Linked DNA regions of Homo sapiens: region 1 is linked to region 2. Evidence: promoter capture Hi-C in human tissues and cell types (Jung and others, 2019). All regions are on one chromosome and are shown on one strand. Each heading gives the region's core, a stretch centred on a gene start or on the middle of the fragment in contact. The rest is flanking DNA. Distances are from core to core; before and after follow the strand shown.

Region 1 (6,171 bases), core at 2,572-5,071, 1.3 Mb after region 2:
AGATAGTCCATCTTGTACAACACCATTAAAGTAAGAGAAAAAGAAAATGCAACTGATATTATTGGGGAGTTTCTGACTACACCTATATGTTTTTGCAAATTGTTAATGTAATAAATTTATTTAAACCTTAAAGATACGGTGGCAAGTTGATTTTATTATGTTTATTTTATATGATACTTCTGTAATCATGCTTCTAAGACCTTTTCAGATTATTTTATTCATATTTCTTCTTAATTTGTGTGCCAGTTTTAGTAATATATATTTTGTTGAACAACTGTCCACTTTGGGGGGTTTTCAAATGTGTTGCCATATAATTTCCTATAATAATCCCATATTGCTTTTTAAATATTTTCAGTATCTGTGGTTATTCTTTCCTCACAACTAATTTTTTTGTTCTCCTTATTTCTCATTTGAAAAGTTCAGCAATGTTTATCTAATTACTAACCTTATCAAAATATTAGGTTTATTCTGATTACTTAAAATATTCTAGTATCTTCAAATCATCTAATTATTGTATTAGAATTATTATCATATCTATCATTTATCTATCCTCTTATATATGTATTGATTGCATTTTATCCTATATTTTCTATTATAAAAAATACTTCCATTTCATATTTCTCTTTTTTTATTTATTTTAATATTCTAAGACTTTTACTATTTCTTTTAACTTTTTATTTTATTTTAAGTTCCAGGACACATGTGCAGAATGTGCAGGTTTGTTACATAGGTAAATGGGTACCATGGTGATTTGCTGCACCTATCCTGGGTTTTATGCCCTGCATACATTAGCTATTTTTCCTGATGCCCTCCCTCCTTTTTCCCATACCCCCGACAATCCCCAGTGTGTGTTGTTCTCCTCCATATGTCTATGTGTCCTCATTGTTCACCTCCCATTTATAAGTGAGAACATGCATTGTTTGGTTTTCTGTTCCTGCATTAGTTTGCTGTGTATAGTAGCTTCCAGCTCCATCCATGTCCCTGCAAAGGACATGATCTCATTCCTTTTTATGGCTGCATAGTATTCCATGGTGTATATGTGCCACATTTTCTTAATACAGTCTATCACTGATGGGCATTTGGGTTGATACCATGTCTTTGCTATTGTGAATAGTACTGCAATTAATATACATGTGCACATATCTTTATAATAGAATCATTTATATTCCTTTGGGTATATACCCAGTAATGGGATTGCTTGGTCAAATGGTATTTCTGGTTCTAGGTATTTGAGGAATCACCACACTGTCTTTCACAATGGTTGAACTAATTCACATTCTCACCACAGTGTAAAATCGTTCTTATTTCTCCACAGCCTCTCCAGCACCTGTTGTTTCTTGTTTTTTTTTTTTTTAATAATCATCATTCTGACCGGTGTGATATGGTATCGCATTGTGGTTTTGATTTGCATTTCTCTAATGACCAGTGATGTTGAGCTTGTTTTCATTTCTTTGTTAGCTGCACAGATGTCTTCTTTTGAGAAATATCTGTTCATGGCTTTGCCCACTTTTTAATGGGGTTACTTTTTTCTTGTAAATTTGTTAAGGTTCCTTGTAGATTCTGGATATTAAACTTTTGTCTGATGGATAGATTGCAAAAATTTTCTCCTATTCTGGAGGTTGTCTGTTCCCTCTGATGGTAGTTTCATTTGATGTGCTGAAGCTCCTTAGTTTAAGTAGATCTCATTTGTTAACTTTTGCTTTTGTTGAAATCGCTTTTGATGTTTTAATCATGAAATCTTTGCCCATGCCTATGTCCTGAATGGTATTGCCTAGATTTTCTTCTACAGCTTTTATAGTTTTAGGTTTCACATTTGAGTCTTTAATTTATCTTGAGTTATTTTTCATATAATGTGTAAAAAACAGGTCGAGTTTCAATTTTCTGCATATGGCTAACAAGTTCTCCCAGCACCATTTATTAAATAGGGAATCTTTCCCCATTGCTTATTTTTGTCAGGTTTGTCAAGGATCAGATGGTTGTAGATGTGCAGAATTACTTCTGAGTTCCCTATTCTGTCACATTTGTCTATGTGTCTATTTTTCTACCAGTGCCGTGCTGTTTGGTTACTGTAGCATTGTAGTATAGTTAGAAATTAGGTAGTGTGATGCTTTCAGCTTTGTTTTTTTGCTTAAGATTCTCTTGGGAATATGGGCTCTTCTTTGCTTCACTCTGAATCTAAAAATAGATTTAATTTTCTTATTATGTGAAGAATGTCAATGGTAGTTTAATGAGAATAGCATTAAATTTATAAATTACTTTGAGCGGTATGGCCATTTTCATGATATTGATTCTTCCTATCCTTGAGCAAGGAATGTTTTTCCATTTGTTTGTGTCATGTCTCATTTCCTTGAGCAGTGGTTTATAGTTCTCTGTGAAGAGGTCCTTCACTTCCCCTGTTAGCTGTATTCCTAGCTATTTTATTTTACATATTTTAAGCAATTGTGAATAAGAGTTCACTCATTATTTGGCTCTGTGCTTGTCAGTTGTTGGTTTATAGGGATGCTTGTGATTTTTGAACATTGATTTTGTATCCTGAGATTTTGCTGAAGTTGCTTATCAGCTTAGGAAGCTATTGTGCTGAGTTGATGGAGTTTTCTAGAAATAGGTTCATGTCATTTGCAAAGAGGGAAAATTTGACTTCCTCTCTTCCTATTTGAATACCCTTTATTTCTTTCTCTTGGCTGATTGCCTTGGCCAGAACTTCAAATACTATGTTGAATAGGAGTGGTGGGAGAGCATTCTTGTCTTGTGCCAGTTTTTATGGGGAGTAATTCCAGCTTTTACCCATTTAGTATGATATTGGCTGTGAATTTATCATAAATGGCTCTAATTATTTTGAGGTATGTTCCTTTAGTACCTACTTTATTGAGAGTTTTTAACATGAACGAATGTGGAATTTTATCTAAAGGCTTTTCTGCGTCTATCGAGATAATCATGTGTGGTTTTTGTGTTTAATTTTGTTTATGTGATGAATTACATTTATTGATTTGAATATGTTGAACAAGCCTTGCATCCTGGGGATTAAGATTACTTGACTGTGGTGTATAAGCTTTCTGATGTGCTGCTGGATTTGGCTTGCCAGTATTTTATTGAGGAATTTTGCATTTATGTTCATCAGGGATATTGGCCTAAAGTTTTTGTTTTTTTTTTCTCTTATCTCTGCCAAGTTTTGGTATTAGGATGATGCTGACCTCATAGAATGAGTTAGGGAGGAGTCCCCCCTTTTCAATTGTTTGGAATAATTTCAGAAAAAAATGGTACAAGCTCTTCTTTGTATATTCAGTAGAATTCAGCTCTAAATTTATCTGGTCCTGTGTTTTTGTTTTTGTTTTTTTTGGTTGGTAGGCTATTTATTACTACCACAATTTCAGTACTTGTTACTTGTCTATTCAGGGATTCAGGTTCTTCCTGGTTCAATCTTGGAAGAGTGTACCTGTCCAGGAATTTATCCATTTCTTCTAGATTTTCTACTCTATTTGCATAGAGGTGTTTATATTATTCTCTGATGGTTGTTTCTAATTCTGTGGGGTTAGTGGTGATATGGTCTTTATTATTTTTTATTGTATCCATTTGATTCTTCTCTCTTTTCTTCTTTAATAGTCTAGCTAATGGTCTATTTTATTAATTTTTTCATAAAAACGGATTCATTGATTTTTTTGAAGTGTTTTAGTGTCTCCATCTCCTTCAGTTCCACTCACATCTTGGTTCTTTCTTGTCTTCTGTTACCCTTGAGGTTTGTTTGCTCTTAGTTCTCTAGTTCTTTAAGTTGTGATGTTAGAATGTAGATTTAACGTCTTTCTAGCTTTTTGATGTGGGCATTTAGTGCTATAAATTTCCCTCTTAACACTGCTTTAGCTGCATCCCAGAGGTTCTGATACTTTGTCTCTTTGTTCTCACTAGTTTCAAATAACTTCTTGATTTCTGTCTTAATTTTGTTATTTACCCAGGAGTCATTCAGGAGCATGATGTTCAATTTATATGTAGTTGTGTAGTTTTGAGTGAGTTTCTTAATCTTGAGTTCTAATTTGATTACACTGTGGTCTGAGAGACTGTTATGATTTCAGTTCTTTCGAATTTGCTGAGGAGTGTTTTACTTCCAGTTATGTGATCAATTTTAGAGTAAGTGCCATGTGGTGGCAAGAAAAATGTATATTTTGTTGTTTTTCGTTAGAGAGTTCTGTAGATATCTGTCACGTCCACTTGATCCAAAGCTGAATTCAAGTTCTGAATATCTTTGCTAATTATCCGCCTTGATGATCTGTCTAATATTGACAGTGGAGTGATAAAGTCTTTCACTATTATTGTGTGAGAGTCCAAGTCTCTTTGTAGGACTCTAAGAATTTGTTTTATGAATCTGGGTACTCCTGTATTGGATGCATATATATCTAGGATAGTTAGCTCTTCTTGATGAATTAAACCTTTTATCCTTATGTAGTGCCCTTCTTTGTCTTTTTTTTGATCTTTGTTGGTTTAAAGTCTGTTTTGTAAGAAACTAGGATTTCAACCTCTGCTTTTTTTCTGCTTTCCATTTGCTTGGTAAACTTTCCTTCATCTTTTTTTTGAACCTATGTGTGCACATGAAATTGGTTTTTGAATACAGCACACCAATGAGTTTGACTCTATCCAGCTTGCCCGTCTGTGTCTTTTAATTGGGGCATTTAGCCCATTTACATTTAAGGTTAATATTGTTATGTGTTAATTTGATCCTATCATCATGATGTAAACTGGTTGTTTTGCAGACTTGTTAATGTAGTTGCTTCATAGTGTTGTTGGTCTGTGTACTTCAGTGTGTTTTTGTAGTGGCTAGTAATGGTTTTTCCTTTCCATATTTAGTGCTTCTTTCAGGAGCTCTTGCAAGGCAGGCTTTGTGGTGATAAACTCCCACAGCATTTGCTTGTCTGAAAAGGATTTTATTTCTCCTTCGCTAATGTTTCACACATAGTTTCGCCAGATCTGAAATTCTTGGTTGGAAATTATTTTCTTTAATAATATTGAATATTGACCGTCAATATCTTCTGGCTTATAGGGTTTCCACTGAGTGATCTGATGTTAGTCTGATGGGTTTTACTTTGTGGGTGACGTGACCTCTCTCTCTGGTTGCCCTTAGCATTTTTTCTTGCATTTTGACCTTGGAGAATCTGATGATTATGTTTGTGGGGGTTATCTTCTCATGGAGTATTTTACTGGTGTTCTCTGGATTCCCTAAATTTGAATGTTAGCCTGTCTTGCTAGGTTGGAGAAATTCTCTTGGATGTCCTGAAGTATGTTTTCCAACTTGGTTCTGTTCTCCCTGTCTCTTTCAGGTACCCCAATCAATCATAGGTTCAGTGTTCTTACAAAATCCCATAGATCTTGGATGTTTTGTTCATTCCTTTTTATTATGTTTTTCTCTAATTTGCCTTCATGTCTTATTTCAGCAAGATAGTCTTCAAGCTCTGAGATTCTTTTCTCCTCTTGATCTATTTGACTATTGATACTTGTGGTTGCATTGTTAAGCTATCCTGTTGTGTTTTTTAGCTCCTTCGGGTTATTTATATTCCTCTCTAAACTGGTTATTCTGGTTAACAGCTCTTGTAATGTTTTATTATGTTTCTTAGCTTTTCTGCATTGGGTTAGAAGATAGTCCTTTAGCACAGTGAAATTCGTTATTACCCACCTTCTGAAGCCTCTTTCTGTCGGTTTATCCATCTCACTCTCAGCCCAGTTCTGTGCCCTTGCTGGAGATGTGTTACAATCATTAGGAGTACAAGAGGCACTCTGGCTTTTTGAGCTTTCGGTGTTTTCTTGCATTGTTTTCTACTCCTCTTTGTGAGCTTATCTACCTTCAATTTTTGAGTCTGCTGACCTTTGGATGGGATTTTTGTAGGATCTTTTTTGTTGATATTGTTGTTGCTTTGCTTTTGGTTTGTTTGTTTTCCTTTATCAGGCCCCTCTTCCATAGGGCTGCTGCGGTTTGCTGGGGGTCCACTCCAGACCCTATTCACCTGTGTCCCTCCCACTCTTGTTAGTGTTACCAGCAGAGGCTGCAAAACAGCAAAGATGGCTGCTTGCTCCTTACTCAAGGAGCTCCATCCCAGAGGGATACTGACCTGATGCTGGTGGGAATGCTCCTGTATAAGGTGTCTGGTGACTCCTACAGGGGGATCTCACATAGTCAGGAGTGATAGGATC
Region 2 (6,899 bases), core at 1,462-3,961:
AAGCTCCCTCAATATTTTAACATCTATGTGCCAGGCAGTAAATCCTTAGGAATACTTGTTTCACATTATCCCATTCATCCTCACAGGTGTTAATTTAAGCCAATGCACTTAATGAAGCATGGCAAAGGCAACTGTTTAAAATAATGAGATGTTATTTTCAGGACATGTAAGTTTATTACACCATTAATAAAAATTAGAGTCTGTAGATTTTGGAGAGATAAATGAGGCTAATAGAAAGGTAAGATTTTTTGCGGAGGAGGTAAAGGCAAGTTTTTTGTTGTTATTTAAATACTAACCAGTGATATCAAACTAACCTTATAAAATACATACACTATCTCCCCACCTTTAAAGCACCCCTGGGGTGTAATGAGATAACTAAAGGATTGAAAAAAGAGATCTCTAAAAAAAGGACTAGAGGACAGCTATCTACTTTTGATATGAGTCTCCACCAGTAAACATTTCCCAACCATGCTGTTTTCAAAGCTCAAGTCATAACGCCCAAACTTTGATTTCTTCCCCTCAAAATACTTCTAAAACCTGAACACTCAGAAAAATGTTTACATAAAATAATGTATTCATATAACTGCAACGTATGAACTTAAAGTTCTAAGAAAGATGCAATGCCCAGTACTTACTGATTAAATGTTGATGAAGACAGGGCAATAGCATTTTGGCTCCACCATTAGCTCAACTGCAACCAATTAAAGAGATTCACGCAGAATATGCAGGTGCTAAATCAGTCCCCAAAAGCATATTTTGGGGTGAGCCTATCAACTAAAATAGTAAGAAAAAAAATTAGCTTGTTTGGTGGCATACAGAAGCACCTAGTATCGAGAGTTAAAATGAGATAAAAATCACCACAATCATGAAATGTATTTTTCACACCTGTAACATAATGGTTTTTTCCAGATACAATCAGGCTGGTTTTTGTGCTTTCTGTATGGAAGAAAAAAATTATTCTCACACCAAATTGGATTCTCTCAGCATGACAATTTTTGTAACGTTAAGGAATGTAGCTTTAACCTTTTTTCTCTAAATCTTAACAGAATTTCTAAATCCTAACCAAATACATGAAATCCTGTCTCTAAGTACACCATAAGAGCAAAAAGATAAGATTTTGGTGTATCGCCATAGTCATTCTTTAAATGTTAAAGTGATGGCAAATTATTCAAGTTATTAAAAGACAGTAATCCTCAGAAAGCTATTTGAAATATAATTTCAAAACCAGCTTAAAGAAATTTGAAGTAATGAAAAAACATGAAAACCCTTAACTGAAAAAAACAGATTTTGCAATACTTTCAACATAGTGGAAGAATATTTTCGTATTTGGAGCTTAAAAGCTACAAATGGTTTTCTCCCACGAATTAAAAATACAGGTATAATTTAAAATTTTCCAAATGGCGTCACTTTAAGCTTAAGACATGTCATATTAAAAAATAATTCCACAGAATATGCATTTTGTAGGACGTCCCAACATGCAGCCTCGACTGTCAGAAAGGAGGCACACATAATCAAATCCATGTACATTAAAAAGAGGTACACAAAGATGAATGAGTTGCGAAAAAAGCAACTACACAAATTCAATGAGAGAAAGGGAGGAGTCCTGACTCATACTGTATACTATTATCCTTTTCCTTATCTACACCGAGTATTTTATATAAAGACATATGCTCTATCATTCAATTGCACAAAAGGGCACTTGGCCACTTCTACTCTCAAATCTGCTCTGGAGATTGTGGTAAAACATTCTACATACCTCCCTGAAGAAATTCTCAAAGCGAAGTACATTTTAGAGAACAAAGTGGACTTAACAATTTTAAGAACTTTCTCGGAACTCGGCACAATAGGGTAATTACAACTTTACAGCCGCATTTTCCGTGCTCCACCAGGACTGTCCCCGCGCCCCAGCCCACATCCCTTCTTTAAAGAGAGTCAGACTGAGAGAGACGGTTCGGCCAGCTATCCCGATTCTCTATGTCTGGGCCGTGAATCGCCGAGCAAGGCTGAACCCCCGCAAAATTACAGAAGAATCTAAAGCGCAAACGAGGGAAAAGAACAAAAAAGCAAAGGGGGGGAAGTTGGGTCGAGACCCACCCCCACTCTCTCGACCCCACCCAAGCCTACCTCTCCTACGCTGGACCATAAAACAAAACCGAAAACGTAACAAAAATAAAAACTAAAAATAGAACACCACGAGAAAACAAGTAGGGCTTCCTTACTGTCTCCACTCCTTCTGGCCCAGTTCTCTACTCAACCTCCCGGCCCACCCCACCCCCCAGGGGTCCCGGCGCCATTTAGCTCCTCCGAAGCCGCCGCCATTTTCCGCCCCCGCCGGATCGCCGCTGTGCCTCGGCAGCCGCTCGCTTCCCTACTCTGCAGCCTGAGCCACGGGCACCGCCCGGCCCTAAGAGGGAGGCCCTGGCCGGAACGTGCGGGGACGGCAGCTGCAACGTCAGGAAGGCCAGGCTCCGACCCCGCCCGCAGTGCCCCGGCGCCGACAGCTTGCGCCAGCCGGCGGGAGCTAGCGGGCAGCAAGGGGGCCGGACAGGCTCCACTGGGCGGAGCGGCCCTGGCGGCGGTTGGAACCTGAAGGTTCCATCGCACTTACTTCCTGTTTTGGGTCCGGGCACTTTGGAAGAACCAGGATGGAAGCTCCAAAAAATACCAGGATGGAGGAAGCAGCCACGGGCGAGAGTGGCTGCAGCTGGAGTGAGCGAGCGCGACGAGCCACCGGAAACGGAGCTGCGGCCGCGCCCCGCCCCCAGCTCCCCGCACGCTGCCCCTCCCGCTCGTCTGTCCCGCTGGCGGCCCAGCGTGCTGGCTGTACGCGTCACTTCCGGCTGTGTCGGCGCGCGAAAAAAGGTCCTGGGTTGGAATGTTTGTACTGGTCTGTGGCGGTGGTTGTCGGCTGTCCTGCCAGGAAAACTCGGCACTGACTATCCCACTGCTGATGCTGTAAAAGAGGTCCTTCTGCTATGACGCAACTGTGGTTCCTCTGGTTCTGGGGACACTTAGGCCTCGCGTGCCGATTTTCATAGTTCCCTGTGGCTCCGAGCCGAGGGAGCCGCGGTGTGGAACGGAGGGAACCAGTGATCTCAGTGCTGAAGAAAACAGGGAGTGTGTGTCTTCATACTTGATTTGCCTTACCGCAGGGGCATAATATGAGATATCTGGGCGTGTTAAGTCGTTCTTGATGAAATGTGTCCTCTGTGAATGTAGTCTCACTGTTAGACTAGGAAGATGCTGTTTTGCTGTGCCCAGTTCCTCTTAAAAGTACAGATGCTCCTTGGGTTGCAGCCGTATAAACCCATCCTAAATAGAAAACGCGTTTTAATACCCTTATAAACGAAAAGGATAAATAAGCCTTTGGGTTCTGTAATGTGAGCCAGCATTCTTTGAGTGCGTATGTGACAGGTAAATGTTTTACGTATATTAAACTCATTTAATGTTCATAAGTTCTAAGTGCATCGCTACAATTATTACAAATGAATCCCATTTTACACAGGAACCAAAGAGAAGTGAAGGAATGTGTCCAAGGGCTCCCAAGTTGGCGGTGGAATTAGAATTGAAGCCTCAGCTCCAAAGCCTGTGTTCTGAACTACCCGGTTGCAGTTCACAAAATACACTTTGGCAGTACTTTCATAACGAAAACAAATGATTACAACCAGTTTACAAATGCTTTGCTTTACTGGAGGATCGACATGTTTGACTAATTTTCAAAAATAAATCTCAGAAGCAGCATTTTCTTGTGTTGATAACTTTATTACTAATTTGTGGCACTCTGCATTCTGTTGGAGTTAAGCCGTGTATCATTCCATTTTTTAATAAGTACATAATAATGTTTATGTAAGCAAAACTATGAGGCAGAATAGTATCGTGGTATGGACTCAGGCAGTCAGACCTGAGTGTGAATCTTGGCTCCATTTCTTAGTAGTGGATATGGCACTTCACCTCTTTTAGCTTTGTTTACTTTAGGAGTAATAAGATGTACCTTCCAGAATATTGTAGACAGCGTAGTTTGCATGGAATCTGACGTGTATTAAGCATTAAAAATGGTAACTAATAAACCTTAAAGCCAGGAAAGCAATACAACTACTCAAAGAGCAGTTCTAATAAAATAATAATTACATATGCAAAATTGTTGACATTAACATTGATAAGGTGGTTCCTAATGAGCCATATTTTTCATAAGACATAACCATATAGGATTATTTTTGCTAAGGCACAAAATAGTGATATATAAATTATAGTCGGGCTATCCATTCTCCTCTGCTAAATTTTAGGTCAGCCTGCACGCTGCTAACTCCCCGCAAAAAGTCAAGTGCATCCTCATAACTAAATTCTCCCTTTCTGGTTGAGTTTCTTTTATAACTACCTTTTCCCAAGTCAATTGGTATTTATTTGGGGATGACAAATGTATTTTAATATTAGCTTAATGCATAATTTAAAAAAATATAATAACGTCTCTATCCCTTTAGCTTGAATAATCAATGTAAAGACTATCCATAACACAACTTGATTCCTAGAGCAATTTTCTGCAGTTATACTTCTATGTTATCCGTACCTCATTATTTAGTCAATGTGTACCTAGGGAATGGATGAGGTTTTAAATATTATCCAAGGATTTACCTATTTAGGAATTAAATGTTTTGTAGAAAAATCATTAGAAGTATTTCTATCCTAAACAATAATTATTAAAGTATTTATAGCTTAGCTATGGTATTTACTGCATTTGCTAGTTAAAATTGACTTTGTTGGACTCCAGGTGTCTATAACACTTTTGTGAACCTCATCAGTGATTGATGATGAAATTGCCTTTTATGACAGGTTGATATATTAATATAAAGTATTTCAAATACTGAGAAGCAGGTTCTGTTGTTTCATGATCATCTTTTGCTAATTCAGAAAAAAAAAAGATGTTTATAAGCTTTTGTTCAAAGTAAAAGAAAATTACAATTACTGAGTAATTTTCTTTCTACACAGGCTCTGAGTCCTGTTAATATAGCTGATGGGTATACACTGTAGGGCCTTCCAGCTGATGGAGATTGCTGTGCTAATGGAGGAATGAATAAACTGTCCCAGTTATGCCCACACACCAGGCTTTACCAGGTGGTCTCCTGTCTCAGATTCTTCCTGTAGGCTTCCCTCTGGGCCTTATGACACTCCATCTTACAATCCTTTTCCCGCCTTGCATTTTGCCTATGTGTCTCATCTCTGCAATCCTTTTAATACCTCAGCCTGGTGACAACCTCTCTATATCCACTTCACTTTTTTCTTCTTTTGTGGTAAATCTTTGTTGAGACCTATTGATAGAATATTAGCCAGAAAAGTGTTTCCTTATCAAGGGAATGGAGAGCTAAGGCGTCCAATACTCCTAGCCAATAAGGATAAAAATTTTTGTTCTGTCTTTGTAATTTTGGTGTGCAAAACAAAACAGTTCAGATACTTCACTAAAACAGGATAATATCCAGACCCAGACTCAAAGACCTGTTCCTTTATAATCTAGCATGGAAGAGAGAGGGACAATGTATTAGTTAACTAAGCAATAATTGCCATGTTTTGTAAGTTCTGAGAAAGATACAACTTGGGTGCTCTGAAAGTGAACTTTTACATAGAGAGTTCAGAGTAGGCCTTTCTGAGAAGATACTTAAGCAGAAAGGTAAGAATAAAGAAGCATAGTAGGGGGTGCAAGGTGGGAAAGCATTTGTCAAGCTAGTGCATGAAAGCATATTTGCAGAAAGCAACTGGCTTGTAAAATGTTTATAAAATGGTGAAAGCAGAGCACTGCCAGGTGATAGGCTGTCCCTTGCAAATGTTAGCTGAATTTCTCAAAAAACTTTATTGTGGTAAGAACACAACATGACATCTGCCCTCAATAAAATTTTAAGTATATAAAACATTATCATTGACTATGGGTACAATGTTGTACAGCAGATCTCTAGAGCTTATTCATCTTACTTGAAACTTTATGCCCGCTGATTACTAACTCCCCATCCCCTCTCCCCAGCCCCTGGTAAACCACCATTCCACTCTGATTCTAAAAATTCGTCTATTTTAGATACTTAACATAAGTGAAATCATGTAGTATTTGTATTTCTGTGACTGGTTTATTTCACTTAGTATAATGTCCTCAAGGTTCATCCATGTTGTTGCATATTGCAGAATTTTCTTCTTTTTTAAGACTGAATAGTATTCCTATTCCTCTGAGACTAGAGCTCAGTGCATGCCCAGACATAGCAGAAATGGGCCATCTTACCCCTTTGCCATGAGCTTTGATTTGCTAATATATGGCACAATACCTTAACTTAGCAGACATTTAAATGTTTGTTGATATTAAAGATAATTATCTTAAGCCAGAAGACTTGGAAGCTAGCCATTTCTATTCTTTGGCAAGAACAGCTGACTACTGGCGATCACACAGTATTTTTCCAGATAGTGTTGCTACTTGGACAATTCTGGACTAAAACAAACACATGTTACCTATTTTTCAAGTGGAAAGAAGTTATTTTAACACATCACATATTTGGTGTTACTCTAAACCTTATTGCCCAAGTCTTGTGCATCTAGATGCAGTATTTTAAGAATAGAAGCTTGTCATTTTAGCCAGCAGATGTCCCTATTGTTCAGCAGGAGTTTTTTTTTGTTTTTGTTTTTGTTTTTTCTTTCCCAAGTAGTAACTTCAACAGTAGATAGAAATTTTGGGGCCTTCATTGCTAATGATATGCTGTGGCAGACCAAGGACAAGCCTCAACAGTAATAAAGCTAAAGGGATAAGGATTCTGCTTTGAAATCAAAATATGAGAAAGCTCTCTAGAATTAAAAGACTTCTGGATTAATCCCCTTCCCTTCTATTCACTGTACATTTAATTCCTTTGCACAGAATATGCAGTGAAACAGGA

The links. Contacts are between HindIII fragments. The study calls those that stand out against the background at their distance.
Region 1: a fragment that was not itself captured here is called in contact with the fragment with the promoter of DMTF1 in region 2 in 1 of the 25 tissues and cell types used here (dorsolateral prefrontal cortex).

Annotation. Positions count from the first base shown.
Region 1 is chr7:85,867,104-85,873,274 of GRCh38, reverse strand. No RefSeq gene overlaps it. Among named protein-coding and RNA genes, the nearest start is that of LINC00972, 450 kb to the right of the region's middle. The HindIII fragment of the contact is 8,908 bases long and covers 1-6,171 here.
Region 2 is chr7:87,148,265-87,155,163 of GRCh38, reverse strand. It overlaps DMTF1 (cyclin D binding myb like transcription factor 1), which reads right to left and starts at 2,711. Exons shown (of 18, transcript NM_001142327.2): 1 at 2,609-2,711. It overlaps DMTF1-AS1 (DMTF1 antisense RNA 1), which reads left to right and starts at 2,671. Exons shown (of 2, transcript NR_136253.1): 1 at 2,671-2,862; 2 at 3,506-3,741. RefSeq lists enhancers at 2,516-3,077, 2,923-3,162, 3,078-3,641. The HindIII fragment of the contact is 5,091 bases long and covers 669-5,759 here.